Regions from separate parts of the Homo sapiens genome. Here region 2 is linked to region 1. Evidence: promoter capture Hi-C in 16 types of primary human blood cells and fetal thymus (Javierre and others, 2016). All regions are on one chromosome and are shown on one strand. Each heading gives the region's core, a stretch centred on a gene start or on the middle of the fragment in contact. The rest is flanking DNA. Distances are from core to core; before and after follow the strand shown.

What was found. Contacts are between HindIII fragments. The CHiCAGO score rates a contact against its expected background, and 5 or more counts as called.
Region 2: a fragment that was not itself captured here is called in contact with the fragment with the promoter of SLC36A4 in region 1 in 2 of 17 cell types (M0 macrophages and M1 macrophages); the score reaches 7.2 in M0 macrophages.

The regions. Positions count from the first base shown.
Region 1 is chr11:93,196,541-93,199,240 of GRCh38, forward strand. It overlaps SLC36A4 (solute carrier family 36 member 4), which reads right to left and starts at 1,451. Exons shown (of 11, transcript NM_152313.4): 1 at 1,238-1,451. The coding sequence starts at 1,292. RefSeq lists a silencer at 1,213-1,592. The HindIII fragment of the contact is 1,801 bases long and covers 268-2,068 here.
Region 2 is chr11:92,940,410-92,943,109 of GRCh38, forward strand. No RefSeq gene overlaps it. Among named protein-coding and RNA genes, the nearest start is that of LINC02746, 26 kb to the left of the region's middle. The HindIII fragment of the contact is 1,323 bases long and covers 612-1,934 here.

The DNA of each region.
Region 1 (2,700 bases), core at 201-2,700:
TGTTTTTAGTAGAGACGGGGTTTCACCGTGTTAGCCAGGATGGTCTCCATCTCCTGACCTTGTGATGATCCGGCCGCCTCAGCCTCCCAAAGTGCTGGGATTACAGGCGTGAGCCACCGCGCCAGGCCGATATGTACATTTTTAAGGCTAAATATATTATCCCTTTCCTGCCAGCAATGCATGAGAATACCCATTTCTCCATATCCTCACTAAGACAGGTTATTAATGAATGAAACCTGAGTTCACATTTGGGTTCTGCCATTAATAAGCTTAAAATTACTGTATCTATAAAATGGAAATCATGATAGCACCTATCTCAGTTGCTGTGAGGATTAAAGACAATGCATAGGTAAAGCACTTAGCACAGTGTTTGCACACAGTAAGCACGCAATAAAATGTTAAGTTTATTGTTTCTACCATTATTACGGCCTGAAAACAATTCCATTGCAAAGTGCCCTGCAGGCTATTAGAGGAATAACAACAACCTATCAGTTACTTATAATACGGTATTTTTTAAAGTTCAACGGTTTTCTTGAAGATTCCATTTAGATTTAATTTTTTAATTACATTTAATCAGCATCGAATGAAAAATACTCCCAAGTACAGTACGTATAACTGGGAGAGCGATCATTTTACCACCCTGATCCTTACTTTTTTATTTTGGACAGCGGGAAACCGTAAACAAACACGCCCTGTCGCCAAGAAACAAGATGGGAGGAAAGCAGCAAAAAACAAACAAACTTTGCCAAGTGAGCAAGCTACAGGTATCTCCTGTTCATTCTGGTCAGCACGACCTGTTCGAAACTCTGGGATAACAAGGAGTAAAATGAGGATTCATCTGGAGATTCCGAATGGGGCTGCAGCATTTGAAAAGCAGAACAATGATAACTTCCTTAAAGCATCATTGGGAAAAAAACCGTGAGTCACGGCGCAGGCTCTTGCGTCTTTGACGTGTACCCACAGGGCCCCGCCCCACTCAACACACACACTCACCCACACGCGCGCGCGCAAACACACACACACATATTTTAACGCCCTATTCAGGCCTGGGCTTCGTCTGACCAAGTTCTCGGGGTCAGATAACCGGTTCCTTTGCGGATGCTGACCACGGGGTCAGTTAGCAATCGGGCCTCAACTCAGGCCAAGCGCGGGGCCCCTGGAGGTGTGGGCGCACCCGACTCCCGCACAGACCCCCGCCCACGTCAGCCCCGGCTCCCTGCCCACGCACAACACCGACCTAGCTCCTCGCGCCTCGCCGCCCCGGCAGCCGCCGGCGTCGCCGCCGCTTCCATCTCTCGCGGGTCTCCAGGACGCCGCCGCCCGAGTGCTCACTCTCCCGCCGCTGCGTGGCCGGCGTCAGGCCCAGGCCTACCTCCCCTGCCCGGAGGGACCCGCGCCTGGTGCCCGCCTCCCTGCCCCGGCGCTCCCCAACCGCGCGGCGAGGAGCATGCGCAGTGGGACAGCCCGGCTCGGCGGGCACCGCCGGCGAGGGGCGGGAGGGGCCGAAGACCCGAGGACTGCTGCGAGGCCGGGTTGGGTAACCCGAGAGGAGGGTTGGGTAACCTGAGATCAGCGAGGGTGGGACCTTAGAGCTAGCCGAGACCCGGGCCCATAGCTCCCTGGGGGTTTTAAAGATGACGGCGAACTTAAATTTGGGGCGCCTGTCCGTATGCAAGGCGTTAGCGTTCTGTAAGTCACCTTGGAGAATGCGAAGAAGGACGGGATTTGTCCCCTACCCATGCTGAGGTTCTGACTACTCTGGTTATTCGTCTCCCTGTTTCTATAGTTAGAGTTACAGGAGACACTTAAATAGAATTTAATTAAGTCATATACAATTTCACTTTCAGGATATTTCAATGTCCTTCCAGATATTTGACGTTGACCGTGGTGCTGAAAGAAAATTAAGGTAAAGACTAAGTGTACTGATGTAGTTTCAAGTACTCCTAAGCACCATACATACATTATCTTTAATTCTGACTACAATTTGTGAGATAATTCTAATATTTACATTAACGCTAAAGATGAAGGGATTAAGGCACGGAGGTAAGTAACGTGTCTGGGGACAGGAAGCTTGTACATGGCAGAAGTAGAATCCTTCTGCCTTCAGAGCTGGAGCTCTCGAAAAATATGCAAAGCTGGCCTCCCAGATGGGTACCAATGAATATTCGATGAATCAATGGATGAAGCAAGCTTTTGGTTTAAAAGGAAAATATTTATTTTAATTTTAAAATCGCTTTCTTTTTTTTTTCACTTCATAGTTCTTGGAAGTCAGTACACCAGACAATCCTTTTTATTTGTGTCCGTTTCATTCAGTGGGGTTGCTTTAGGAAAGGGTTTTTTTGGGGGGGAGTGGGTCTGATTAACAGTCACTGATGTAACTATATGGCAATGGTGTTAAATATTTAAAATTCTGAGATTAAAAAGGTACGCAGTTACATACTATCTACATCTTTCCTCCTGTTGCATCCTCTGTAGGCTTTCACTAGATAACTAGTGATAATGACAGTTTGCCAACCCCCTTTCTTTTCCTTTAAGTGAACCCAATTTGTTCACATACATACACATGCAAATCCCAAAAGAAGGTTTTATTTGAAGTGTTCCTGACAAATAAAGGGGTAAAGGAGATTTTTTTTAAAAAAGAAGAAGAAGAAGAAATCTATTCTGGAACATAGCTAGAGCAATGTTCCCTAACCTGTGTTG
Region 2 (2,700 bases), core at 23-2,522, 260 kb before region 1:
CTTTCATGAATAAGGCTGTGGAAGCTCACAAAAGTTACTCCATTTGCCCAAGACCAACAGAGCCACTCTGGCAAAGCCAAGATTAACTGGCTTCCAGATCTGCTCTCTTCCTATGAAAATAAGGTAACACATGGAAAATGCTTGGTAACTTGTAAAACTCTGTATTGACAATGGTATTACCATTCTCAGTGGTCCTTACTCTCTCTAGAGCTCACAACTTTGTGTTGCTTTTACAGATAAGAAAATTGAGTTCCAGGGCAGTAAGTTAATTTGCTAGCATTCCACAGACAGAGTTGGGTTTGGAACCAGGTCTGTGCTTCTCAAAATGGAGGCTCTTAGGCCCAGGGGTAATGGATAAGGTGTTCTGCATAAAGGTGGTGTATCCTTCTACAGAATTTATTTTATTCAGATATTTGGGTAAAAATATCATTTTTATGTTAAGCATAGTGATATATTAGTGCCTCAGAATGCAACACTCATATTGGTTTTTATAGTAAAATATGAGACTTCAATTCTGCTTTTCCTCCTGCAGCATAGGACTATCTCCTCAGGTCCCTGAGATATGGATTAGCCCCTTTGGTCAGGAGGGGTACTTGGGCGGATGTTGGAGAAGCTTCTGCTACACTGGGCAGCCTCTCGCTGTGCCATGTGCCTCTGCTCCCCTCACCCACAGAGGATGCTTCTAGATGAATCCTGCCTGAACTCAGGGAGGCAGAAAAGACAGTCTCATAAGAAGTCTGTGAGTCCCTGAGAGTACTTTGCTTTTTAACCAAAAGATATAATTACTTCTCTTTACCTGATTCATTCGCCAGTTGATGAAATTGATGTATTAAAATATGTTCGCTCACTAGGTTTCTAACTTTCCCAAAATGCTTCCAGACAGACAGCTTTGTGCCCACAGCTGTGAGTGTCTTGACATTTATCTCTAGCTGGGACGCTGGGATCTAGTCTAGAGTCTGTTGTGTCTTCTTCTGTGACCTCAGGCCGGGCACATTACCTCAGTGGGCTTCAGTAACCTCACTTACAGGGGACAGGAGTTGGAGAATCACTAAGATTTCTTTCCATTTGGGCAGGTTTTGGGACCCAGGGGTTAAGTAAAGACAAGAACATGAGGTTCAGTAGCTGGGAATGTAAGTTCCCTGAGAGCAAGGCCTTTTTTGTTCATTGCCTGAAACAATGCAGGACATACAGTAGACAGTGAGTTACTATTTGTTAAATGAAATGAATAAATCTCCTCAACTTCTTGCCTGGCAGAATCAGTAAATACAAAGGAGGGGACATCCAGACAGATGACCTGAACAGAGTGGGCAGCTGGCTCACCTTTGCTCCACTCCACTCAATGCTAGCCCAGAGCCTGGCATAGGTGGCTGCTCATGGATTGAGCTTTTAAACAGCACTGAGGGTGTTCGGCAGGCAGGAGTAGGGGTGGTCTCAGTGGATTGTGGTCATTAACAGTCCTTAAGCTCCAAGAGGCCAAGGGCAAGATGAGGGAACAACATGACACTTATAGCTTCTGGCTGTGTTTGTACTGGTGGAGGTGACTATTGCTACCTGACTTAGATGTGAATAAAACTGCGGAGGATAAGGGATGAGAGGTGGAAGTGTTTTCTTATTTGTGTGTGTTGTTTTAGCCCCCTAGAGACATTGTTTTGCATTTGTAGTGTAAGCAAAGGCTCCGGAGAGCTGGTGAAAGATGCTTCCTTCCCTTCTCTCCTACCCCGACATCACTGAATGTATTTTCCCTTCTCTACCACTGGGAGTCGCAAGTGCCCACAATAATGCTCCGTTTCTTTTTAATAAAACAAACGGGAAGTATCTTTTTTGTGAAGATTTGTCCTTCACTGATGCACTGCCCTTTGGTTGATGAATATTCAGAAAAGGGGTAAGGGCAGGGGATATTGTGAAGGGTAGAACAGAGGAATAATACGGGGCAAAGCTTGGAGTCTGTTTCCAAAGAGCAAAAGAACGGATCTCCTCCCCAGGTAAGCTGTCACCTCCCAACTGTGGTGGGCATAAGTACATGGTAAAGCAAGTGTGGGGTGGGAGAACGGGATGCCCGGTGTCAACCACATCCCCTACATCTCCAGGTTAAATAGTCTCCCAAGGTGACGCCATCAGGCAGTCAAAGTCAAAAACCATGAGTTTAGGATGAGGCCATATTTTAAAGGTCCATCACTTTAAAGAAAAACATTGAGTTAGAAAAGATTTAAGAAGCCCATGTACATGGCCAAAACAGCGAGTGGCTGAAGCTTGGAAAACGTTATTTTACTGGACCTTTCTTCTCCACTGGGCTGCAAACCTCAGTGTTCATAAGCTTTGCATTCCCAATGCCTGGTGTAGCTCCCGGGCCACTGTAGACTTACAGTAAGCCCTGGAAGGAAGAAGAGAGAATGAGGAAGGAAGGGAAGAGGTAAGGAAGGAAAGAATGGAAGGTGTGCGTAGTAAGAAGGTAAATGTGGCAGATGGCCCCAATGACTCCTGCCCTCTGGTGTTCATGCCTTTGCGTGATCCCTCCGCCGGGAGGTATGGGCTGGACCTAGTGACTGCCGCCCAATAGAGACTACTTCAATAGTGATGGTATCTTACTTACCAGCTTGCAAAAAGGCTGTCACTTCTGTCTTCAGCACCTTTCTCACTCTCTTACTCTTTTGTTTTGAAGAAAGCCAGCTGTCAAGTTGTGAGCTGCCAACAACCAGGTGA